5 separate regions of the Homo sapiens genome follow, and regions 2, 3, 4 and 5 are each linked to region 1. Evidence: promoter capture Hi-C in human tissues and cell types (Jung and others, 2019). All regions are on one chromosome and are shown on one strand. Each heading gives the region's core, a stretch centred on a gene start or on the middle of the fragment in contact. The rest is flanking DNA. Distances are from core to core; before and after follow the strand shown. Region 1 holds the start of E2F2 (E2F transcription factor 2). Region 2 holds the start of KDM1A (lysine demethylase 1A). Region 3 overlaps KDM1A (lysine demethylase 1A). Region 4 has its middle 17 kb from the start of LUZP1. Region 5 has its middle 23 kb from the start of LINC01355.

Evidence for each region. Contacts are between HindIII fragments. The study calls those that stand out against the background at their distance.
Region 2: a contact is called between the fragment with the promoter of KDM1A here and the fragment with the promoter of E2F2 in region 1, in 3 of the 25 tissues and cell types used here (adrenal gland, heart right ventricle and mesenchymal stem cells).
Region 3: a contact is called between a fragment that was not itself captured here and the fragment with the promoter of E2F2 in region 1, in 1 of the 25 tissues and cell types used here (mesenchymal stem cells).
Region 4: a contact is called between a fragment that was not itself captured here and the fragment with the promoter of E2F2 in region 1, in 1 of the 25 tissues and cell types used here (IMR-90 fibroblasts).
Region 5: a fragment that was not itself captured here is called in contact with the fragment with the promoter of E2F2 in region 1 in 3 of the 25 tissues and cell types used here (H1 embryonic stem cells, bladder and dorsolateral prefrontal cortex).

The regions. Positions count from the first base shown.
Region 1 is chr1:23,529,783-23,532,827 of GRCh38, forward strand. It overlaps E2F2 (E2F transcription factor 2), which reads right to left and starts at 1,451. Exons shown (of 7, transcript NM_004091.4): 1 at 760-1,451. The coding sequence starts at 1,011. RefSeq lists silencers at 857-1,005, 1,543-1,682. The HindIII fragment of the contact is 9,154 bases long and covers 1-3,045 here.
Region 2 is chr1:23,018,031-23,021,075 of GRCh38, forward strand. It overlaps KDM1A (lysine demethylase 1A), which reads left to right and starts at 1,438. Exons shown (of 21, transcript NM_001009999.3): 1 at 1,438-1,917. The coding sequence starts at 1,567. RefSeq lists enhancers at 1,242-1,929, 1,930-2,615 and a silencer at 1,685-1,754. The HindIII fragment of the contact is 14,593 bases long and covers 1-3,045 here.
Region 3 is chr1:23,044,135-23,047,179 of GRCh38, forward strand. It overlaps KDM1A (lysine demethylase 1A), which reads left to right. Exons shown (of 21, transcript NM_001009999.3): 3 at 293-352. It overlaps MIR3115 (microRNA 3115), which reads left to right and starts at 171; the gene lies at 171-238. The HindIII fragment of the contact is 7,190 bases long and covers 1-3,045 here.
Region 4 is chr1:23,184,372-23,187,416 of GRCh38, forward strand. No RefSeq gene overlaps it. Among named protein-coding and RNA genes, the nearest start is that of LUZP1, 17 kb to the left of the region's middle. The HindIII fragment of the contact is 4,187 bases long and covers 1-3,045 here.
Region 5 is chr1:23,261,316-23,264,360 of GRCh38, forward strand. No RefSeq gene overlaps it. Among named protein-coding and RNA genes, the nearest start is that of LINC01355, 23 kb to the right of the region's middle. RefSeq lists an enhancer at 1,962-2,796. The HindIII fragment of the contact is 3,246 bases long and covers 1-3,045 here.

The DNA of each region.
Region 1 (3,045 bases), core at 201-2,700:
TCCACCCCCCACCCTAAAGTTGTTTTGATTCACACGGGCTCCAGGAATTCCACTCCCACAAAACACACCCTGAGCCCAGGTCAGCAGGCAGCCTGGTGCCACTACACTTTGGGCCCTCTCTGGCAACGAGCCTGGGAGCTTGAGGAGAGAGCAGCCAATCTGAACAGAACCCAAGGGGGCTGCCCACATTTGTATCTGCTACATGGCTGTCTGGGAGGGAAGACTGGGCCTGGGGGAGGACCTAGGGCAGATACTTGGGGCTATCTCAGGAGCTGGCTGGACAATTTGGAGTCTGTCCATGGCAGATTGGATGTGAGAGACCCACTAGACCTATCCCTCTGTCTTACCAAAGTCCCACAGTGTCCCCAGGCCATACTCTTTGCCTGGACAATAGCAGGCACCCAGTACTGGTTTCTGGCCAAACAATGAAGTAATGAATGAATGGCGGCAACGCTGGCTGCATGGACTTCCCCAAGGTCACACAGTGCACTGGGAGTAGTGAGTTGGGTCTCCCTCCAGACTCGCAATCCAGTGCTCATTCCACTCCACTAGAATGGATGAGATTATTTCATCCAAAGTCTGAAAATGAAGGGGTCTTCTACTCAGATATTGGGGGCACTGGGTCCTGGAAACTGAAAGCTCATCTTCCCTCTTCCCAAAACTCTACCTGCTCCACTCAAACTGGATCTCAGGCACCCCTCCCTCCTTTCCCACACCTGGAAAAGCATAGGGGGAAGCGGTGGGGGCCCCCAGCATTACCGGCAGCCGGCCTGCCGGCAGGCATCGCACAACTTGGCCCTCGGGTCCGTGGGGAGTGGCGTCGAGGCAGGTGCCTGGCGCCGCTGCGGGAGGCGCCGTCTGCGGGTACAGCGGTGTGTAGTAGGTAGCAGTAGCTGGGCAGAGCTGGGGGCTGCTGAGGCCGGATGGCCACAGCTCTGTGGGGCTCATCGCGGGCACCACCTTCGGGGTCTGCCCAGCGGCCGAAGCCAAGGCCCGGGGCCCTTGCAGCATAGCGAGTAAGGCGCCCCCTACCCAAAAGGGCTTGGCGCGCCCGCGGACACCTGCGGGTTCCGGTGCTGCCGCCTTTCACACGGCCCGCGGCATGGCGCGGAGGCCGGGGGAAGCCGCCAATGGACGCCTGCGGGGCAAGGCCGGACCCTCCCCTCCTGGCCCGCGGCCGAGCAGAGAGCAGCGCTTAGAGATCGCCGCTTGGAGATCGCCCGGCGGCTGCGGTGGTGGCACTGCCAGGGGCTGTCTCGTCCCGAGGGCACCGCGACCCGGGACGCCCCGCGCTCCCCAAGGCCTCGGCACCTGGGGTCCGGCCGGCTCTGGGGAGGGGTCCCCGGCGTGCCCTCAAGCTCGGCGGAGACGCGATGCGCTGGGATGGGGAGGGGGGTCTCGACTGCACCGACTTCCTTGCGGCTCGCTCTCTAGTCCTTGAGTCTTTCTCTGCCTCTTTTTTTTCTTCTTTTTTTTTTTTTTTTAGCGCCAAACGTCGTGCCGCGAAATTCGGATCTCCCGCGGAAAATGCCGCGCTCCGGTTGGCTGCTGCGACAGTACAGGCTCCACCCCCCCCCCCCCCCCCGGAAAGAACGCGTCCTCGAGGCGGCGATTGCAACACTAGCTTCGCTGCTTAAAGGGGCAGCCACACCTGCTGTTGGTGCCGCCAGCCGCCGGCCGCGCTAGTTAGCAGCCGGCGAGACGGAGACAGAGGGTGGTTCCGGGATTCACAGTGCAGAGGCGGCCAGAGCAGTGCACAGCGCCCCGAGAAATGGGCCCGGATTCCCTGGGATTGAAGGGAAACATTTTGGCGCGGGGTCCCAGCCTGAGCCCAGACCCAGCAGTGTATTCCCCAGGCCACAGGCCCTTTTGTTAGTTTGCATTGTTGCTTAGCTAGCACATGTGCATTCATATCCCCTTTCCTGCTAAAATGAAGGCCAGGAACCTGTTCCCTTTAATGGCAGAGGGGTGAGGGACGGAGGCAAACTAGTCTACTTCTTTGTAGGGAAAACTAACATCTATTCAGCGCCTACAGGATGCCAGGCACCATGCTAGATCCTTACAAGCGTTGTTTTAGTTAATTTATTCCAACAATCCTGGGAAGAGGAATGATGATCCCCATGATAAAGACTGACAGTCTGAAAGGCTGGGTAACTTGCCCAAGGTCATACAGAGAGATTCCCTGATTTGAGAGCTGGCAACAGAATCTGGGACAGGTCCCAGCTCTGGAGCCCTTGTTTTTCCAGTTAAGGGGTTCTTCTACTCTCCCAAGCTGCCTGGGGGCACAGCAGGGTCAGAGTCCCACTGCAGAGCTTTGTCTTGTTCACAGTTGTATTATTAGGACCCAATACTCAGTAAATGTTTGAACATCTCTAGGTTTCTTTTAAACAATCCTTTTGTCACAAGAGCCTCTCTGCCTCATTCAAAAACCTTCATTGCTGATAATACATTCCTCATCACTCCGGTTTAGAGAGGCTCAGAGAAGCAAACTTGGGTAGTGAGTGGTAAAAAGTTGCTAGAAGCTGCTGCTAGATTTCAGGTCTGATTTCTTGCCTGGTGCTGTGTGATTTTTATGCAAGTCTGAGCCTTGGCATTCAAAGCCCTCCAGAGACAGTCCACAGCTTAATTCCTCATTAGATGGTTGAGGCCAAGGTGGCAATAACCCATGATGATTAAGAGCCCAGGCTTTGTAGCCAACAGCCCCGAATTCAAACCCAGGCCCAGACACTTTATTATTCATTGTGTGACCAAGGCAAATTTTGTAAATTCTCTGATCCTTGATCCTTGATTTTCTCCTCCTAATAGCACTTACCTCATATGATCATGAGGAAATCTCATGAGATAATGCATATAAAGCTTTCATCACAGAACCTGGATCATAAGGAGCCTCAAGAATTGGCAGCTGTTGTTATATCTCTGACTTTTTTTTTTTAGACAGAGTCTCACTCTGTCACCAGGTTGGAGTGCAGCGGTGCAATTCTCCTGCCTCAGGTTCAAGTGAGTCTCCTGCCTCAGCCTCCCGAGTAGCTGGGATTACAGGCGCCA
Region 2 (3,045 bases), core at 188-2,687, 510 kb before region 1:
AAAAATAAATAAAACAATATTCACTGCTTACGTTTTTATGGTCATGTTAATACAGTTCACAGCTGAGCCATATGTTGTACTATGATTATATTTTCTTTCTTTTTCTTTTCTCTTTTTTTTTAGAAACGCAGTTTCACTATGTTGCTCAGGCTGGACTTGAATGAACTCCTAGGCTCAAGTGATTCTCCCACCTCAGTCTCTCGAGCAGCTGGTACTACAAGTGCGTGCCACGCCACTCGGATACATTTTCTTTCTTGCATAGCTTTTACTTTTTTTCCTTTCTACATTTGATTGCCTTTTTGTCTGTTTGCTTAGTTTTTTACAAAAAACAACTTTACTGAAGTACTACAGTTACATAAAACATACCTGTTTTACATGGATAGTTCATAGAGTTTTGACAAATATATACACCTATGTAACCATCACCCTAATCAAGATATAAAACATTTCCATCACCCCCAGCAAGTTCTTTCTTGTTCTTTTGCAGTCAACCCCCGACCCCCATCTCAGGCAAGGGCTGATTGGAGCCTATTACTGGAGATTAGTTTTACCAGTTCTTGAACTTCATGTAAATGGAATAATTTTTTGACAATTTCACTTCGAAGAGACAGACTATTAAAAAGACAATTGTTTGTGTAATAAGTACACGCATGCTAAAAGTACACGACCTGTTCCAGTTTTGGGTTAGCAAGGGATTCCTCGAAAAATTAAAAGAATAAACCGCTACTATCATTATTAGAAAGAATTAACCTGGAGTAGAAAGAGGTGTTATGTGGATGGGGATGGGGGACATGAAGGATGGGGGACATGGGGGATGGGGGACATGGGGGATGGGAGAAGCGCAAGACATGGAGTGCGAATGAGGTTGGGGTCCAGCCAGAAGGAAAAGCATGAACAAAGGCTTGGAGACAAGAGCAATTCCGTCTGGACTCAAACCTGGATTTCGTAACTTGTCTCCATTTTACTACCATCGAAACTGCTGTGCTCTCCAAGTTTTTTGCCCAGTCCAAGCAGGGCAATTATGAATAAGTAAGACGCTCTACCAACATATTTCAGTGTTTTCCCCCATTAGACTGTAAGTTCTTTGAAAGCTAGAACTTCATAATGTAACCCTTGTTACGTAGTAGGCAAGCATTAATAAATACTGGTTGAATTAACGAATAATTGGGTGAGTGAATGAACGAACGCACGCATGCAAACCCGAAAGTCCCTGGAGGAAATGGTCACCTTCGGAGGTTTAGTCTGGCCCAGAAGCCCTAAGACCACGGACTGTGCCAGGTCCCACTCCAAACGCCGGGGAGACGCTCTAGGCAAGCTACACGTTCTTTGCTGCGGTGCCACTCTAGCCGCGAGAACGCCGCTCTATGGCTGCGGGGGAGGGGCGGGGCTCGTGGGTGTCTCCGACCCTTTTTGTCCCGGCGCGGCGGGAGCGCGCTTGGCGCGTGCGTACGCGACGGCGGTTGGCGGCGCGCGGGCAGCGTGAAGCGAGGCGAGGCAAGGCTTTTCGGACCCACGGAGCGACAGAGCGAGCGGCCCCTACGGCCGTCGGCGGCCCGGCGGCCCGAGATGTTATCTGGGAAGAAGGCGGCAGCCGCGGCGGCGGCGGCTGCAGCGGCAGCAACCGGGACGGAGGCTGGCCCTGGGACAGCAGGCGGCTCCGAGAACGGGTCTGAGGTGGCCGCGCAGCCCGCGGGCCTGTCGGGCCCAGCCGAGGTCGGGCCGGGGGCGGTGGGGGAGCGCACACCCCGCAAGAAAGAGCCTCCGCGGGCCTCGCCCCCCGGGGGCCTGGCGGAACCGCCGGGGTCCGCAGGGCCTCAGGCCGGCCCTACTGTCGTGCCTGGGTCTGCGACCCCCATGGAAACTGGAATAGCAGAGACTCCGGAGGGGCGTCGGACCAGCCGGCGCAAGCGGGCGAAGGTAAGGCTCGACCCTTCCCTCAAACGACACCGCCTGGTGCCGAGCTTCCCCGAGGCTTCTCCGCCCTCCCCCGCCGCCGCCGGGTCTTGGGCCCTGCGACCACTCAGACCTCCCCTTGTATCGCTGCGCACGCCACGTCCCCTCTAGCTGGACGGGTGGGGTGAGAAAGGAAAAGTCTTTGCCGGTGTTGACTGCGGTCTTTGTGCTGGGTCCCGAGCGACGTGGGAAGGGGCATCGATGATTGCTGGGAGGGGTATTTTATTCCTTAGGTCTTTCTTGCACACCTTTTCATTTTCTTGACTGGAAAATGGCTCCCTGACGTGGGGTTACGGTTGGCGTTCTTGGAGACCTCACTTGTTTGTTCACAGATAGGTCTGGAAGCTGTTGGGCGATATTGATGGCGTTTCAGCTGGGTGCACGAGGGGGCTGTAGGTTGATGCTGAAGAAATCGCCTTAGCCGGGGAGATGAAAAGAAAGGGTCGTTTTTGCTTTTGTTTTTGTTTGAGCAAAACCCTGCTGTGTGGTAGGAGTTCTAGTCTTTTTTTTTTTCTTTTTTAAAATCCTCTCAGCGATCTTTTGGCGCAGAATTTTGCAGATGAGGAAGCTGCTGATTGAGAGAGCAAATAATAGTCAAAATGCAAATATATGGGAAGAAAAGATTTGACTCCAAACAGTATATACAGACAGTGACTGCCTCAAATGTCTGTGTCCTAGATGCTATATTCAGCGTGTCACCAACATTACTTTTTTTTGTTGTTGTTAAATATCAACGGGCAGGTATTGCTAGCCCTATTTTAGGAATGAGTAAACTGAGGCACACAATTTAAGCAACTTGCCTAAAGTCACAAAGCTAAATAAGTGATGGAAGTGGAATGTAATTCCCACATTCATGTTGTTACAGGGTATCATCAGCCCTTGAAACAAAGGACCACATGGGACACTGTGTGCAGGGCACTGGGGCAGTATTAGGGCGCAGACTTTAGACTTGGGCCTTTTCTGGAGATTTAATGGTCGGTCTAGTTGGAAAAAACAACCTGGATATATATGTGCGTGTAGTCAACATTTAAATAAAAATTTGCAGATTATATAATTTATGCCTGAAAAAATTGTCTACATAATTTTTAAGTG
Region 3 (3,045 bases), core at 377-2,876, 490 kb before region 1:
ACTATTAATATTAAATAAGACTGACAGCAAGGATTTAGTGATTAGAAATACTATGTACTTTGTTCCACTGCCTTTCAACAAGAATCAACATGTAAAGTTGAAACTTCCTGACCAGAATTTGGAAGACTATGATGTAATTCCCTGGGCCTTGATTCCAGAAGAAGGAGCTCTCTGAATATGGGTTTACTAGTTGGTGGTGAATTCATGAGTCGCCAACTATTAGGCCTTTATGTCCAGATATTATCCTAATTTATGGAGTAAGGTCCCTGAGTTCTCCTCTTTCCTTCCACAGGGCAAGCAGGAGGACTTCAAGACGACAGTTCTGGAGGGTATGGAGACGGCCAAGCATCAGGTGAGGGTGGCATTAGATGCTTGCCACTTAGTAGCAAGAGCCGCCAAGTAGGAATTGATGCTTGCAAGTGTTTTTGGCTGTGGTATCCACATTTTAGCCAGAAGCGCAGGTGAAATTTAACCCACAGGACATAATAGTATAGTAGGAGAGAGTGTAGTGAGAACAAAGGCAAGCAAAACCTTTTGAAGTCCTCAGGCCGATCTCAGCCCTCCACTCTTTGTGTTTTCGAGGAGATGGCGGGTACTTTTCTCCCCAGCAGCCTTTCTATTAATAGTAAACATGATATAGAACATAGACTTAGGAATCATGGGACCCTTAAAGAGAAATACAGCAGTATACACAGAGAGGAAAAGTCACAGGCTCAAAAGTCTAAAAGCAAAAACAAACGGGACTGAGAGGCATTCTAGGACTAGTCAGAGGAACTATGTGGGCAAGTGACATCTTTTTAAAAATGGTTGTTACAGGGTATTGGGTACCTTTTTTCAGTTAACATTACGTAGTTAATCATTCTTCAGTTTAAACATTTTGTTTCTCATGTGAAAAATGTCTTTTGAAAAGTCTGAAATACTTTTTTCTGTTCAGACCAAACAGTATGAGATTTTTACTTCTAGGAAAAAGTAAAGAATTTATAGGGGCCACCATCTGGAACAGTTAAAATTTATCCCAGCAATCCAAAATAACGTATCTGGATTTCATCCTTTGTCTCTTGAAGGATGTTTTTGTTCCAGTTGCTCAAAGCTGGTTTATAGATACGTTTTGATAGAATTGGAATAGGCACTACTTCACTTTTGGAGGTTGTCACTTTTCAACTGTCTTAAGTCTACTTTAAAATTATTTGTTTTGCAGTTTGCATATAACAGGTCCTGGGACTGTTTCTATTTCACTCTCTTGAACTAAAGGTAGTTCATTGTTAATACAGCAATTAGTAATAAGGGGATCCAGAATGTTAGGAGCAGACTTTTAAAAATGCTGTCCCAAGGATTGCAGGTTGATAATCAGTACATGGTTATCTTAGCAGAATTAAACCCTGTTCAGAGTCTAGATCTGTGGCATATAAACCTTGAAGAATGCTTTTCATCAAATGACGCACAATTAGATCTTCCATGGAACTGTTGAAGATCAGGGATGGCCTTTAGAGTTCTAATCTTGAAGAAAGAAGTTGAGTTTTCTTGTTTTTTGTTTCTGTTTTTTTTTTGTGTGTGACTATTTGCTCTTTTGCATTAAGTAAACAATATCATATATTGCTGAAAGTGAAAGCAGACTTTCATATAAAAGTGTGCTGCTGATTACTGTTAGTAGAACATGAATTTTAAGTGTTTCCAGGAATGATGGTGACTGTTGTAAAACCTTCAAGATCTCTCTTCCAATCTTTGTCACGTTCAGAAGCATGCATTTGTGAAATGATCAATCAGGGTTAGAAATGTGCTTGTAAGAGATCAACATTCTTCTCTTAATGAAGCCAGATGACCCTCATGGGTATCTTGGTGCCAGGATCATATCTTGACTTCTTAAAACCCACCTCAAGTTGGTGTACACATCCTAAATCTTAGAGCTAGAAGAGAACTTGAGGTCATCTTGTCTAACTTCCTGCCTTCAAACAGTATTTTATCTCCCTTATTTTATGGATTAGGATCTGAAACCCAAAGAAGTTAAATAGATTGACCAGCAATACACCAGCAGTTCTGGAGAAGGAGAACCCAGGGATCTTGCTTCTTAGTGCAAAGACTATTCCTTACACCCTTAGAATCCTTTAAAATAGTGTTTACCCTAGAAATTAAAAACTCTGAAGTATAGGAGGTTGTACAATTCTCTTTTCGTTTTCTCTCTCCTCCCCCTATTCCTTATTCCTTTTATTTTAAAACATTCTAGGACTTGATATGATACATCTCTAGTTTTCTCATATTAAGTAAAGTCTTTAATATGTAGATCACCTCAGGCTTTTATTTTCACGCTAGAAATCTAGTTATAGTTATCTACTTGATATAAAAAATTAAAGGCAAGTAACTCTCATGGAGGCCTTCTTTTCTTTGTTAATTTTTATATCTCTATTACCTTACTGCAGTCAAGATGCTACCTATATCTTACACGAATCAAGAGGAAGTGATTTAATGGAATAGAGGACCTGTCATCTCACCTGCCTCTCCCGCTTTTTCTACTTCTAATTAACCTACTTCAAAAGGTCTAAATTATTCCTTCAAATATTTAACTACATTTATTATGTATTCAGAGAAAGTATAAGCCAGTCAGACCATTAGAAAGGGCAGTTCTGCTTTAGAGTGACTGCATTCTGAAAGGTGATGCTGGAATTTCCTGTATAAAGGTGGTGAGCAGGAAGGAACTGAACAGAAAGTAAGACTGGTATTTAGGCAACTTGGAGCTTTTTAATAATTTTTGAATGTTTCAAAGACAACGTTTTGGAAACATTCTAAATTTTCAGAATACCAGATTCCATTACTTAATGGAAAACGCAAACACCAGAGTACAAAACTATCAGAGCCAAGTGTAAATTACTTCTGAATTAATGTGTACTGTTGGTACTTTTAGGATGTTATTAAAATCATTTGTATTCTAAAAGATTTTTCCTCTGAAAGAGATAGGTACTCATGAGTTAGATTATCCAAAATGGTGTCTATTACTTCATTTTGGTACTATCCTATAAGAAGGATGTTTTGATTTAGCTTCTCAACAGTTTA
Region 4 (3,045 bases), core at 219-2,718, 350 kb before region 1:
AAGGAAGCTAGGTTTCCCACCCGGTCTGTGTGATGCCTGCATCCAGGCTCTTAGCCACTACTCCATACTACCTCCTTGACTGAGGCAGAATTCACCTCTGTATATGTATAATGTATATGTATATATGTATAATGTATACAGTACAATGCTGTCCTAGCCTTGACCTCCCAGGCTTAAGGCATTCTCCCACCTCAGCCTCCTGAATAGCTGGGACTACAGGCATGCACCACCACACCCAGCTAGTTTTTGTGTTTTTTGTAGAGACGGAGTTTCACCGTGTTGCCCAGGCTGGTCTCAAACTCCTGAGCTCAAGAGATCCACCTGCCTCGGCCTCCAAAGGTGCTGCAATTACAGGTACAAGCCACCGCGCCAGGCTGGCTTTGCTATTCCCCGCTCACCATTCCCCCTTGCAAAGGAAAATTGATCGGAAGAGGAAGGAGCCCACCCACCTTTGATTTCTGCACTTTTTCCTGGTGCCTCTGCGCCACCTGGTGGCCATATCTAAAATAAATTAGGATTTCTGAAGAAAGCTTTAAGGAGGTGTAGGGTGGGTCCACTTAACAACAAAATTCTCAACAGCAAACTTTTCATCCCAGTCCACATTTCTCTATAAGGCCCCAGGTCTCACCAGTGCCTGAGGTTATGAGAAAGGCAGAAGTGAATTTTGTCCCACTGAAGAATCTTGGGTCTGTCACTGCCCCTTCTGGGATCAGTTTCCTCATCTGTTAATAAAAAAGGCAGGAGGCCGAGTGCGGTGGCTCACACCTGTAATCCCAGCACTTTGGGAGGCTGAGGCAAGTGGATCACCTGAGGTCAGGAGTTTGAGACCAGCCTGGCCAACATGGTGAAACCCCATCTCTACTAAAAATACAAAAATTAGCCGGGCGTGGTGGCAGCCACCTGTAGTCCCAGCTACCCGGCAGGCTGAGGCAGGAGAATCACTTGAATCTGGGAGGTGGAGGTTTGGTGAGCTGAGATCACACCACTGCACTTCACCCTGGGTGGCAGAGCGAGACTCCCTCTCAAAAAAAGAAAGAGGCAGGAGGGGACTGGGCGCTACCAGCTCTGACATTCTAGGATTCATGTCTAAAGTGACTCTGCCTCCTCCCTTAGCTCAGTGAGCAAAATGTAAGCTCCCGGAGGGCAGGGAAGTTGCTGGCTTGTTCAATCTCTATCCCAAGTGCATGGGCAGTGCTTTGTACATAGGAGATACTTTATTGGGTTTGGGGCTATATTAATAGAAGCACTGTGTGTACAGTGAGGGAGATGATAGTCCTTCTGTCCGTGTCTAGAGAACTGTGTTCCATTTTGGGATCAGAACTTTGACTGGAACATGGAAAAAGTATAACTTATCCATAGGATGATGAACAAGATGATGGCTGGGGGGACCTCAAAATCACATTTTATGGGGAAGAGTTGAAGGAGCCACTCTCTGACTGTGGTATATAAAATACTGAAGGGGTGCAATGTGTCCACTTCAAACATCTGAAGAGAGCACGTGGGCTTTGAGAACTAGGAACCAGGGGCTGCCACTTCTGGGAGACAGATTTTTCTTTCCCCAAAACCAAGGGAAGCTTTCAGTCAGAGCTCAATAAAGAACAAATATGCATTTGATCTCAGTCTGTCCCTAATGTGCTTTTAAGCTTGGCAAGTTCCCTCATGACTTTGAACCTCAGTTTTCTCACATATAAAATGGGCATAATATGGAACATGCAGGAACATGCAGGCCTCCCAAAGTGCTGGGATTACAGGCATGAGCCACCACGCCTGGCCAAGTTCTAAGTTTATCTTCAATTTGACTTTTTTTTTTTATGTTATGAGGGAATCATAGAAAGCATGTTTAAAGTGCCGAGTGGGCCAGGCACAGTGGCTCATGCCTGTAATCCCAGCACTTTGGGAGGCTGAGGTGGGCGGATCACGAGGTCAGGAGTTTGAGACCAGCCTGGCCAGTATGGTGAAACGCCCATCCCTACTAAAAATACAAAAATTAGCTGGGCATGGCGGCAGGTGCCTGTAATCCCAGTTACTCAGGAGGCTGAGGCAGGAGAATCGCTTGAACCCGGGAGGTGGAGGTTGCAGTGAGTTGAGATTGCGCCATTGCCCTCCACCCTGGCAACAAGAGTGGAACTCTGTCTCAAAAATAAATAATAAAAATAAATAAAGTGCCAAGTGCAAGGCCTGGCACCTGACTAGTTTTGGGTTAGTGTAGCTATGGTTAAAAAAATACAGAAAGGGTAGGGAGCGGTGGCTCATGCCTGTAATCCCAGCACTTTGGGAGGCCGAGGCGGTCGGATCACGAGGTCAAGAGATCAAGACCATCCTGGCCAACATGGTGAAACCCCGTCTCTACTAAAAATACAAAAAAAAAAAAATTATCTGGGTGTGGTGGCGCATGCCTGTGGTCCCAGCTATTCAGGAGGCTGAGGCAGAATAATCGCTTGAACCCAGGAGGCGGAGTTTGCAGTGAGCCGGGATCGTGCCACGGCACTGCAGCCTCGCGATAGAGCGAAACTCTGTCTTAAAAAAAAAATAGAGAAAGGTGATGAGCACCCTCTCAAACAACTGGTACAAGTGTTGCCAAGGAGGTGGTAGAGGCTGATGGCTAGCCATGCTGGCTCTCAGGTCATACTGCTAGATGTAATTCTGACTTTGCTATTTATTTATTTTTGTTTTATTTTTTGAGATAGGGTATTGCTCTGTCACCCAGGCTACAGTGCAGTGGCATGAACATGGCTCACTACAGCTTCAACCTCTCAGGTTCAAGGGATTCTCCCACCTCAGCCTCCTGAGTAGCTGGGACTACAGGTGCATGCCACCAAACCTGTCTAGTTTTTGTGTTTTTTTGTAGAGATGGGGTTTCACCATGTTGCCCAGGCTGGTATCAAACTCCTGAGCTCAAGGAATCCGCCCACCTAGGCCTCAGAAAGTACTGGGATTACAGGCTTGAACTATCATGCCCGCTGTCTTTGCTATTTAGTTGCAGCAATACCTTGAGTGAATTACTTAACCATTCTGAGTCTCAGTTTACCCATCTGCAAAATGGGG
Region 5 (3,045 bases), core at 327-2,826, 270 kb before region 1:
CTCTGGCCTGGGTGACAGAGTGAAACCCTATCTCAAAAATTAAAATAAATAAATAAGTAAATAAATAAATAAATGGGTCTGCAGAGGGGTCAGCTGCCCATAGAACACAGAAAGAATCCATTAAAAGAGATTCTTCTAGAAAGAAACCCATGAAGGTAGTTCTGGGTTCTCTGTTCTTCATTTTTCCTCTATGGTGGAGCCTAGACTGTAAGCTTGAATATTCCATCATCATTTGCTTTTTCTTTTTTTTTTTCTTGAGACAGGGTCTTGCTCTGTCATCCAGGCTAGAGTGCAGTGGCATGATCACTGCTCACTGCAGCCTTGACCTCCTGGGCTCAAGCAATCTTCCCACCTCAGACTCCCAAGTAGCTGGGACTACAGGCACATGCCACCACACTCAGCTAATTTTTGTATTTTTTGTAGAGATGAGGTCTCACTATGTTGCAATGCTAGAGACAGGGTTTTGCCATGTTGCCCAGGCAGGTCTTGAACTCCTGGGCTGAAGCAATATGCTTGCCTTGGCCTCCCAAAGCGCTGGGATTACAGATGTGAGCCACCGTGCCTGGCATCATTTTCAAAACCAGACTTTTTCCTTGGTGATGGTTCTAGCCAAATGTTTTAGCTCCTCAGTGTCATCGTGGTTTCCCGCCATCAGGAAGCTGGTAGTCCTTCTCCCAACTGAAGCGGTCACCACATTTGATTTCCACTATCAGGAAATGAATATATCACTATTTTCATAACAGCTACCATGTATTGAGTGTGTGGTTGTTCTAGGCAGTAGGCTAAGCAGTTTCCATTTTATCACTTAGTTTTCACAAGAATCTTAGGAAATCACCATTAATAAACCAATTTTTCAAATGAAACTGATGCCTAAAGAGGTTTAAAAACTTTGAGTATGTGAGGATGGGGTAGAAGCAAGGATTGTCTTACTCTAGGGTCAGATCTGGGTTTTGTGGGGCCTGAAGCTTAGGCTACTGGGGGGGACCATCTTTAAGAAAATGATAAAAAAGGCCGGGCGCGGTGGCTCACGCCTGTAATCCCAGCACTTTGGGAGGCCGAGGCGGGTGGATCATGAGGTCAGGAGATCGAGACCATCCTGGCTAACATGGTAAAACCCCGTTTCTACTAAAAATACAACAAATTAGCCGAGCGTGGTGGCGGGCGCCTGTAGTCCCAGCTACTCGGGAGGCTGAGGCAGGAGAGTGCGGTGAACCCGGTAGGCGGAGCTTGCAGTGAGCTGAGATCGCGCCACTGCACTCCAGCCTGGGCGACAGAGCGAGACTCTGTATGAATTAAAAAAAAAAAAAAAGAAAAATGATTAAAAATTACAAATACAAATTTTGGCTGTGTGTGGTGACTCATGCCTGTAATCTCAGCACTTTGGCAGGTTCACTTGAGGCTAGGAATTCAAGACCAGTCCGGGCAACACAGTGAGCCCCGACTCTACTTTGGGAGGCCAAGGCAGGCAGATCACGTGGTCAAGAAAGCGAGACTATCCTGGCCAACACGGCGAAACCCCGTCTCTACTAAAAATACAAAAATTAGCTGGGTGTGGTGGCGTGCGCCTGTAGTCCCAGCTACTCGCTTGAACTCAGCAACCAAGGAGAATCGCTTGAACTCAGGAGGCAGAGGTTGCAGTGAGCCGAGATCGCACCATTGCACTCCAGCCTGGTGACAGAGCGAGACTCCGTCTCAAAAAAAAAAAAAAAAAAAATTATCAGACATAGTAGTGGCTCCCGTCTGCAGTCCCAGCTACTTGGGAAGCTTAGGTGGAAGGATCCCTTGAGCCCAGGAATTGGAGGTTGCAATGAGCCATGGTTGAGCCACTGCACTCCAGCCTTGGGGTGACAGAGCAAGACCCCCTCTCTAAAAAAAAAAAAGCCACAAAAATACAAATTTTTATAAGAAAGTGCTGGAGTAAAAGGAGATAATGTGTGACTGAGTGATCTTAACCAATTGCAGTTAAAAAATGTTTTTAACAAATTTTACAAAAAACGTTCACTCTGTGAACACATCATTCATTAGGACCTCCCTCAGCTCTTTGGAAGGAGCTAATAGTGTAAATGAAGGGTTTTGAGGCCACGACTTCATTAGCAACTCAATAAATCCACCTGTGCCTCTGCTGGAGCCGTGGTTTTCCACAAAGAATTGACAGGCCTAAAAGGTCAATAGTGCCTTGGCTGAGAAAGCTTGTGCTCCAGGGAGGAAACCTGAAGAAAGAGGTTGCCAAACTCTTCTTGGGTGGTCATTGATTGCACCCAAATTGCATTTTATGAGACTCTCAGATCCATTATCTCTCTTGGTCTTGGGAAGACAGTAGAGGGAGTTGGGATGGATTGTTCAGCTCTTTGCATTACAAATGTATCCTGGGTGACAGAGAGGGTGTCCTGCAGTTGCTCCCATGCTCCCTGACTCTCTTCTCTCTTCTCATTGTTGTCTCTCTTTAGGCCAGCCCTGTCCAATGCAAAGGCGAGCCCTGGTTCCATGGGTGAGGAAGGGATCTCTGGGTGCTTCCAGGCTGAACCTCTAGTCTGGTAAACATCTGAAAGCAAACACTCCTCTCCCATGAGAATTGGTCTCCTGGAGAGCATGCCTTTCTGAGTGACAAGTTAGTATTCTTCTGTTACCCTGATTTGTATCCTATTTGCTGTTAGATAGCTCTGGTCTTATTATGCAAAAGGTGCCTTTCCCCCGTCTTGCCCTGAATTGTATTACAAAGCTTCCTCAAATTAGGAAACATTAAAAGGTGCCCAGCTCAGCCCAAGCTTCTCCCCTCATCTTGGAGGAGGAAAGGGGAGCTGTTTCAGTTTATGCTGCCATATAAAGGGCTGTTGTTTGTTTAAGTTGCTGTATTCCATCCCTGGCACTGTCTCCAAGCATGATACTATGACGAAGCTTGTTTTTGTTTTGTTTTGTTTTGTTTTTTACAGCTCTTTTCTCTTTTCCTTCCTTCCTTCCTTTTTTTTTTTTTTTTTAACGAGGTCTTGCTTCATTGCTCAGGCTGGAGTGCAGTGGCATGATTATGGCAGCCTCAACCTCCAGGAT